2 separate regions of the Homo sapiens genome follow, and region 1 is linked to region 2. The links are contacts of gene promoters, found by promoter capture Hi-C in blood cells and fetal thymus (Javierre and others, 2016). All regions are on one chromosome and are shown on one strand. The core of a region is centred on a gene start or on the middle of the fragment in contact, and the rest is flanking DNA. Distances in the headings are between cores, read along the strand shown.

Region 1 (5,001 bases), core at 2,121-4,620, 240 kb after region 2:
CTCCTGATTTCTTCAAGTATCAGATAACAATTTAGTTTAGGTTTGATAACTTGAAACTTTAGCATGAGTGACTCCATTTTGATTTTTAGTCTTGTCTGTTGTCGTCTAGTGCGGGAGCTTAGTCTAAAACAATGGCCTTTTATTTTTATTTTTTATTTTACTATGTGCCTGTGCCTTGCATGACCCCAGGATGGGCACAGCTGCTTGGCCCCTGAGCCACCGAAGGCTGCTCTACTCCTTCGTTCTGGCTACTAAAAGCTGCAAAGCTCTGGGAGGGCAAAGCTCAAGAAGACTAAAACAATGGCCTTTACCATTTTTGTTTGATGATTTTCCCCGTTTTGATCAGGCTCTCACCTAGGTAAGAGTGAACAAAATGTAGGAGATCAGTGCTACTCTGTTACCATCATTTTGGGTTTCTGGTCTCAGGAGGTCATGTGTAGCTTATGGTGCCCTCCTCATTATCATGTATGTCTCTGAGTTTTTGTTGTTTCAGAGAGAGACCATTCGATGTCTGACAGGTGGCTTTTTGGAAACATTTAAAACTTTGAGAGGGTATAATGTACCAGGAAGACTGCTATTATGACTATCAGGGAGATAATACCAAGGGTTTATAGTATGCTCCTTAGCCAGGATTCTCATGAATCAAACCAACTAAAATTGAATAGCCTGACAAGGAGACTACCTGTTTTAACCAAGAAGTCTTCTCTGTAGTACCTGATGTATTTATATATGTGGAACAAGAAGTGTCACCCAACTGCACAGATGCTTCCTTGTTGAGTTAGCAGGTAATCTAGCATTCCATGACTGGTTAAATTAAAGCAGAAAGTGTAAGTTACCCAAAGAAGCTACTCATTGTGAAGTTTTAACTACAGCACTATCCTGCCAAGTGAAAGAGGTAGGCACAAGTAAGGGAAAATTAAAAGGGATAAGCATCTTATGATAGGGAGTCTTGTTCTGACAGTCTTGGAGCTGTCTACAGCATGAAGTTGACAACTTCTTGTTTTGGTTTGTAGTTTTATTGTCTCTAGTTGTGGCATCCAGCATTCTGGCGAACTCTCTATGTGGCCCACAGTTTAAGCATGAGATTCATCTCTTGAAATTTACACTGAGTTGCTCAGCTTCAGCTTACAGAGCTTCAGGAACTGAGTAGTTCTTGGTCTTCATTGGAGTGTTGTAGCCAGATATTAGTGAAAGCTAAAAGAATTAAGAATCCAGCTCAGTCTACAGGTAGATAATAAAAACTCATAAATATTGAACAGGGCTACAGTCTAAGAACAGTTTTACTATGCTTTTCTTTTGAACCATATGTTTTTCTTTCTATAGTCACCTCCATTTCTATCAAAGACGATCATGGTAGACCAATTTGTTTACAAAATAAGTTTGGTCTCAAACTTGGCCTGATTGATTATTTACACAGTACAGCAAGAATAACTACATAGGTGACTCCTTTCAAATTTGCTTTGCCAAGCCTGGCGAGGTATTGCTTGCCTGTGAGCCCAGCTACTTGGGAGGCTGAGGTGAGAGGATTGCTTGAGCCCAGGAATTCAAGGCTGCAGTGCACTATGATTGTGCCTGTGAATAGCCACTGCACTATAGCCTGGACAACACAGTGAGACCATGTCTCCAAAAAATAATTGCTTTGATAGAAATTTTGACAAGGAATCTCAGATTGGACTTTTTAAAACGTCTTGATGCTATGAAGTCAAACCAAGGCAGACATTAGGCTTTGCCTGATGTATCTAATATCTTGAAGTTACTGGGCCTCCCAGGAAGGAACGACTTTTTATTCACTCATTGTAAGGCTAGCAGCCCTTGAAGCCAGGAATTCTGTGCACATTTTCAAATATGATATTCTATTCAAAGCCTTGATAATATAACCAATGTTTTCCAATTGTATTCTATTTAAAAGAACAGATTCTATTGAACTTTCATGTAAATAATCATATTGCCATAAAAATAAGAATACTCACAAAGAGTTTCCAAATTCTGGAAGGATCAGGTAGAGAGGAAAAGCAAATGTTTCAATTTTTGTTTATGAAAGTATGCTTAACAAGGCTGGGTGCGGTGGCTCACATCTGTAATCCCAGCACTTTGGGAAGCCAAGGCGGACAATTGCTTTGAGCTCAGAGTTTGAGACCAGCCTGGCAACATGGCAAAACGCCGTTACTACAAAAAATACAAAAAATTAGCTGGGCATGGAGCCTGAGGCTGAGAATCACTTGAGCTGGGGAAGTGGAGGTAGCAGTGAGCCCAGATGGTGCCACTGCACTCCAACCTGGGTGACAGAGTGAGACCCTGTCTCAAAAAATAAAAAAAAAGTATGCTTAACCAAGTGGCTGTAAACTGCAGATAGCTTTAAAGAAAAATTTTCTTTAGATCTGGAAAACAAATATTAAAAGAACCAGCAATGTTTCAAATAAAAAAGCCATAAAACCTGTAATTCTTCTCCATCAGTTCATTCAGTCTCATGTAATTAATTCTTGCTCTGTTTGATCTTGGCTGGTAGTTTAATTCCAACGAATGGTATGAATTCAAAGTTATTAGAAACCTGTATTTGTCAGAGTTCTTTTCATTCTTCCCATATAACTCTTTGAAGTCACAGCACTTTAGAATTATAATGGCTTACAAAGAGCTTTCAGAAAAAGTATCAGAACAAAACAATTAACTGTGGACAACAAGACTTAAAGTGGCTATATTTAAAGATCTGATGTGAGTTACCCAATTGACAAGGATATTTGGATATTTCTGTGGCACACAACAATTTAAAATAACCAAAATTATGACTGGTAGCATTTATACCAAGACCTATCACATTTCTAGGAATGTTATATAATTTTGGAACATATTAATAACATATCTATAAAAATATAGCACAAAGAAAGTTAAACATCATTTCTTATTTTAACAGTGCTTCCCATATAATTTAACCTATCAGATAAGGCCATTTGGTTTAACATCTCTCTTTTACAGATTCTTTAAGAAATTCCAGGGTCCTCTGGAACATCCCAAAGTTAGTTCAAGGTCAAAAAGACTTAATTTTGATTTTTGAGAAGTTTGTCAAATACCAAAGGTTTAAAACATTTGATCAAAATCGGATCATAGGTCACTATGAAATAAAACCAAAGTGAAAAAAGAGTTCAAAGGCAAAAAGCACAAGAAGAGTTATATTGATGAAACATGAAATCTCTGTTTTCTAGGCCAGTTACCTGGAAGAGAAAATCCTCTCACAATTTTCTATTAAGAGTAAACCAATCCTCTGAGAAAACTCTATTGTTCCAACACATAGGCCCACACTTTAGCCTTCCATCAGTGTACTTTAATATTAATGCTCAATTTTTAGAAAAACTTATAAATAATTCCCTTCTACTTTTAGCCAACTCAATCACATAAAATTTTTCATGATATTTATCTTCTACAAACCTTCTACAACTTGCTTAAACCTTCATTTGGTCCTATACTTCCTTTTTTAAAATTGGCATTGTACCTTAGGACAAAGATTTACTTTTCTTTTCTCCTTATCATTTTGACCATATAAGGTTATCTCCTATACAAAAGAAAAAATTACTCTCTTTTCAATTTTCTTTATCTCTTCATACTTGTAAATTTCTTCTCACATCTTTCCTACCTAGTGGTTCCTTCCTGCCTTGTTTTGATTTCCTTCATAAGTCCATATTTAGAAACAACCTTTAAATAACCTCTGATTGCCAAGCTAGAGTTAAGTTTTAAATAAATAAATAGGCCGGTCATGGCGGCTCACATCTGTAATCCCAGCACTTTGGGAGGCAAAGGTCAGAGGATCACTTCAGGCCAGGAGTTTGAGACCAGCCTGAGCAACATGGTGAGACCCCGTCTCTATTATTTTTTTTTTAAAAAACAAAAAGCATAAAAACTCTGAGAACATTTTGAACCCAGAAAGATATTACTTCCAATTTGTGCCACAGAGCTGGTAATGTATGGAAATGTGTATCTTGACAGTGGGTGGGGGTGGGGTGAATATTGACAATGGGGGGATGTTGTTATGAGGAGAGCAAAGCTGGAGATTACTTAGATTCCTTAGAACAGGAGGACTCTCAAGGGTGTGAGTCTCTGTGTGTTTCTTTATGAATGTATGTGTGTAGGAAAGTGCTAAGGCTTAGGTTGAATTCTTTAGCAGCAGAGCCCAAGATGGGGATTCTTGCACAAGCGATTTATTGAGAATACATCTGAGGAAATTTATGAAGCAGTGAGGGGAGCAGGATAGGGAAGGGGAAGAAGCTGATCAAAGACATGGTTTCTGAAGTCCAGCGTAGATCCCTGATTTCACAGGGAGCACCACCACAGGAAGAGTACCAGAAGGTTATGCCTCCTTGAGGCAAGAGGACCTGCTTTCTCCCCCAGTAATGAGTCAGTCAGTGGCTGCAGGCCAGCCATGTGTGGGGATGAAACCTCCCAGTTCTCTTTATTTACTTATTTATTTGAGACAGGGTCTTGCTCTGTCACCCAGGCTGGAGTGCAGTGGTGCAACTGTGGCTCACTGCAGCCTCAAACTCCTGGGCTCAAGTGATCCTCCCATCTCAGCCTCCTGAGTAGCTGAGACTATAGGTGCACAACCACACCTGGCTAATTTTTGTATTTTTTTATAAAGATGGGGTTTCACCATATTGCCCAGAAGTTCTGGGTTCAAAGTGATCTGCCCTCCTCGGCCTCTCAAAGTGCTGGAATTACAGACCCAGTCCTCTTTAGATGACACAGCTCCCAACGGGCAAGGGAAAGTCTCCAGAGAAGGGCACAGCTGTGAAACATTGGCAGCCTGGCCCACAGCAGCAGGAGGATGGATACACTGGCTTGGCCAAAGGGACGTGATCGTCCACAAGGTTGACTACGACCAGTTATGGGATAACCATTCTATATACTACTGGAAAAGAAACTGTCATTTCAAATCTGGGTCACATTTTGGATAAGAGAAAAATAAATAAATAAAAGGAGGAGCTACAAAAACTTAGTATAGGTTGATGCTTTAAA
Region 2 (5,235 bases), core at 533-3,032:
CTGATGATAAACATAAGCAAATACTTGAACTCTGGCAGAAAAGCACTCTGCTGTGTTAATAATCTCCTCATCCCCATCACATATTTCCACTGATGCTATGCTTTCTCTGGTCTTAGTTTTAAGCTTAAATGAATGTGTGTGCTGTGGTGTGTGTGTGTGTGTGTGTGTTTCGGTGTGTGTAAGTTTTCTTTATAAATGGCTGGCATTCTAGCAAGATCCTTTTCCCCAACTTTCAAAACGCATGAATAGCAGCACAACATTTTCATTTTTAGAATTACCAAAGCCTTGCCACCCAAAGCTGTGCAGAAGATTTTAGAAATTCACAACAAAATTTTCCACCATATTACTCTCAACTTCTATAGAAATGCAACTCACAACTCATATTGGTCAGCTATTCCCCTATAAAGATTCAACACTACCAGTGGAAGATTATAAAAATGCATACGGCTTTTCAAATAATAAGAGAATAGTTCCAATTGCAAATAAAAACCAGTATACATTTTGAAAAATGAAGGTCACTAAATATTCCTAAAATAATGGAAACAGGTGATAATTAACATTCTAACAGTTTAGCCACATGTAATGTCCTCTATTTTGTCAACAGAGTCCAGCTGTTTTATCTACTTAAGTCTAAAAGAAATTTATCCTCATCATTAAAAACAGGAACTTATTTATAGGTAACTAAAATTAACAGAAATTTAATTTTAAATATTTTAATTTTATTTTTAATATTAAATTTAATTTAAATTTAATTTAATTTAAAATTTTTAATTTAAATATTTAAATATTTAATTTTAAATATTCAGTACTTGTACCATTATTTTCATTTTGAAAATGTATCTATCTTATAATGATTTGGCTTTATAACTTATAAAGACATGTAACTTACTTTATCCTTTAAAATAATATTTTACTAACAATATTAGCGTGTAGCTACATATCATATTTAAGAAACAGCAATCTACTAAGAAATGTGCCCAGGTCAAAAATAGAATAAGCCAATTGAAATAAAATATTATAGCAAATGATCAGTATACATCTACCAAATAAAAGGGTTATGAAAGGTGAAGACCAAGTAGTAATCTCCAAAAGTAATACAATGATTACTGATTGAAGTTTTATACCCGAGACTAAGCTACTATAATGAAATGTTTAAAAAATATTTTAGGGTATTATCACCTTAGGTCAATCTGATTATTATTTTGAATGAATGAATGAATGAAATGAATGAATACCCAAATGAATGAATACTGAAGTCATGACAATGTTTAACACCTTGAGATGCTCACAACAATTTGGAATACCCAGAGAAGATGACTTGAATACAAACAAACTATTTAAAATTCACTGTGGCTCACAGTAAAGATGCAGTGGGTTTCTATTTGTAGAACAAAGAATCTCAATCAAAAACCTATATATGACTAAAATATTCTCAAATGCAATTATCAAGGCTTTAGAAAGCATATATACTTTTTACTATGTAATTCTTTCCTGTTCCCCCACCTCCCTGCATTTTTTTTTAATGTTTGGCATAAGTGACCAACAAACCAGAATAGAATACACATTTTTAAAATACTAATTTACACATATTCTATTTAAGAACAACATACAACCACTCATAAATTTAGCCTTTTTAAAAGTGTCCTTTATATAAAACAGTGGGGAGCGGGGGAAATCCCTGCTATACATATGAAGCACAGTTTAAGCCCAATACAACTGACCAATCAAAATTAGTGAATACACTGCATCTCTCTGCAGTGGAGAGAAGCGACAAGGTAGGCTGTCATTCTGCAAAAGCTGCCCGAACAGGCTTTCCTCTGAAAAGCAGTGCCGTTCCTTTTTAGAAAGACTGAATCTAAATGTTGTCTCTGGAGACAAGAAGCCTTCAGTATGTTAAATTACTTTCATTATGTATTTTCAGATGCTTATTGATTCCACAGTAGGAAGAGTGAGAGACTGCAGCAGCCTCTAAGCAGCACTACATGTTCCATACATTAGCAGTACTGCTGAAACAATGGCACACTACAGACACATATTTTCATTAAGGTCATTTTCGAAGAGATGTTTATGACCCTCTTCCCCCAGTCCTCTACTAACAAGTGAACAAAATGAATCAATCCAAACTGGAAATGCTTCAACTACATCAAGAATTTATCAAATCTTTAGCAGAGGTAAGATTTGTTCCTATTATAGTATACAGCTGCTTTTGAACCGGCATAGTGGGGTAAAAATTACTTTGAAAAATTTCAGCCTAAATTTTAAGAGTTTGTTTAATTCTACTTATTGCTAGACATGTATTTTAAGATCTATTTCTTTTAAGACATGCTACATTTTAAATGTAATTTTTTAGGATGCATTGTTAAATACAAATATTCTTTGTAAATTCATTATGAAGACAGCTTTTGAGTCACTTCAGATATACTAAATATTCTTAATGTAATCAGTACAGTTTTTCTCCAGTGTTTCAAAAATGCTTCTGTTTCTTAAAAGAACTAGGTTTACTATTTTGCTGTTACTTATTACTTAATTTTATGTTAAGTTTATTATTTGGCATGTTCACTGAAAATTAATTTGCAGTTACAATTTTTATTACCTTTTGTATTTCAACCACATGAACAATTCATCAATGGAAATTTATAGTATCTTATGAAATCTGTTTTAATGAGTTAAAATTCAAACCATGTGCTAATAATTAGGCAAGTTACAATATTTTTAGAGCAAAAAATGTTGTTAAATTTATTACAAAGAAGAAATAACAGTATGTTTAGTGTATGCTAATTGTTCATCATCTCTGAAAATACAGGTTAGCTTCTAAAATGAGAGCAGAAATTAGTTTTAAAAAATATAGCTTTTCTCTCACAATTGTATTTGAAATGTGAACTCTATTGTTAAATAACATAATATATACAATCTTTATTAGGAAAAAAGACTTATTTAAAGAAACAATTTTATGCATATAGCTGTGGCTCTAATAATAACAGTTTGGTTATTTTGATAACAAATACTGGATAGTTTTTAAACAAAACTAAAGTAACTTGCAATTAATTACAAATTATTAAAAACCCTATTTCTTAACCAATTTTCTTCTTTTCACAAGGGCCAATAGCAGCTAATTCAGTATTTACAACTGACAATATGAAGAATGCAATTGACTGAGCATCTCCCTAGCTGTCTGAACTACGAACTGCAAGATGTTCTTGTAACACGACTTTAAGACATTAAGGAGTTAAAACCAGGGAATAGGTCTACATTACTGATGGAATATAAAAAATCAACTGTATCCTAAGAAGATGCTACATAAAATAACCACAAAAAGAAAAACAATATAACTGTAAAAGCCTGAAAAGAATTTTTAAAAGGGGAAGTTTATACTTTCATATACCAGAATTGTGGAAGTTACTGATTCTGGAAGACATAATGAAACATGAATTTCCAAAAAGAAAAGAAAATACTTTATCAGCACACAAAAGGAAGATTTAGGAAGTGTTTTCTGCACTAAATATTCAGATATTCATATCAATTGGTATGACTAATGGATTTTTCTATCTGACTTTTATGACCAATTATGTATCCTCTTCTAATGAAAACAAACAAAATTAAACAGCAGATGGTTTTTATCAAAAGGACATGGCCTGGATTTATAATATAAAGCAAGTTATGTGATCAAGAAATCATTTCAAAATAGTGAGCACTGCTATTAAAAACAGATTTACAATGGTAACAAAAGGATGTCTAAATATATTTTAGAAGCTACAAACGTTATGTTTCCTTTTTTGTTTTCACATATTCTGGAAAATAAAGAAATATTATCATGTACTCCATCAAAGGGAAACATAATTCCTATCATCTGAGGAAATTCCTCTTGGCCGTGACTTTTTAAAGCAAAACAAATACAAATATTATGTACTGTTCTTTAGAAATCCATCAGCCAACTAAATCTCATAATGCATGCAGTTGAAGTATTGGAGAGAAAACGAAAGAATTCCTACAAGACATGAAATAAAACACAGCTACTTCACTGTTGTCAGGTAAAAATTCATGTCAAAATCTGTCAATGATATCATGTATCAATTTGCCAAAAACTGTCATAGTGAACCAAAAGGCCCATAAGGCAACAGCAAACAGGTAGGTCAGAAGATGCATGCACCCCACCACACTGTTTAACATTTACGAAAGAACAGAATCTTGCTCTAGAGAAAATGTATTTTTCTTAATCATCATTTAACTTGACATTTCTGCTTTATTTAATTATAAATCTAACTGATGTGACAAAGACCTGATGTTTAATCTGTCAGTTCAGAAAATTTGGCACACTTAAAATTTTCCATTTTTATAGGATTTCAATGTTAGCTAAGACCTTAACTTACTCGAATAAATATACCTCTAGTAATACTTCATACTAATTCAAAAGAAATAATGTTACCATTTGTGTTTCTGCAATATTATTCCCAAAAAAGTTCATAAATAAAACTGTATTCTAAAACTTGTCAAATATAACATTAAGTGAAAGTTAACATGAATTTTGAAAATTATTAGCTTTTATAATTTATGTTGAATATGATTTTGCAGTTGAAATGCTGTATTTGAAATGTGAAATATAGTTGGTTGTATGAGTTCATATTTTAAAATGAATATACTGATTAACTGACATTTTAGCCCAGAACATTAGACATTATTTTTTACAAATTATTCTAAACCCCTATATATTAAAATATAGATTTGCATGAATTAGCAAAAGCGTTTGTATTTTTTTTTAATTTTTCTTCAAAATTAGACAATGGGTGATATATACAAAAGGCTTCACAGGTAATGTGTAACTTTAAAAGCTTCCTCAAAAAACGGGCTTCACATACTCCTTTTCCCTAAAATTTCATCTTTTACTTTAAAAACTCAGTTTAAACAATGTCAACTGATATATTCCTTTAAACTACTTCAAAAATGGCTATTTCTTAATGTGATATTAAATTTCAATTTTCTGTTTCCACAAGATACAAGAGGGTGTGGTCACAAAATAAATCATTTCATAGGAGTGATTAATGCTCTTTTACCAAGCTTTGTAGCTTTTTATTTTAGCATAATGTCCCACTTCTTCTAATTTTTAAGTTTGCCAACTGCAAAGTTCAGTGAGCATTGTAACTGTGATATGTAAAATATTAATCACTGGCCTATTTCTGTGGGAAATAACCCCAAATATCACCAAGCACATTGTTGACTTCTGAATATGAATTCAATCAA

The links. Contacts are between HindIII fragments. The CHiCAGO score rates a contact against its expected background, and 5 or more counts as called.
Region 1: a contact is called between a fragment that was not itself captured here and the fragment with the promoter of GPR22 in region 2, in 2 of 17 cell types (naive B cells and naive CD4 T cells). The highest score is 5.8, in naive B cells.

The regions. Positions count from the first base shown.
Region 1 is chr7:107,704,835-107,709,835 of GRCh38, forward strand. The region is part of intron 18 of SLC26A4 (solute carrier family 26 member 4); the gene reads left to right. Among named protein-coding and RNA genes, the nearest start is that of CBLL1, 37 kb to the right of the region's middle. The HindIII fragment of the contact is 6,874 bases long and covers 1-5,001 here.
Region 2 is chr7:107,468,275-107,473,509 of GRCh38, forward strand. GPR22 (G protein-coupled receptor 22) reads left to right here and starts at 1,783. Exons shown (of 3, transcript NM_005295.3): 1 at 1,783-2,171; 2 at 3,098-4,028. The region is part of intron 6 of COG5 (component of oligomeric golgi complex 5); the gene reads right to left. The HindIII fragment of the contact is 4,703 bases long and covers 122-4,824 here.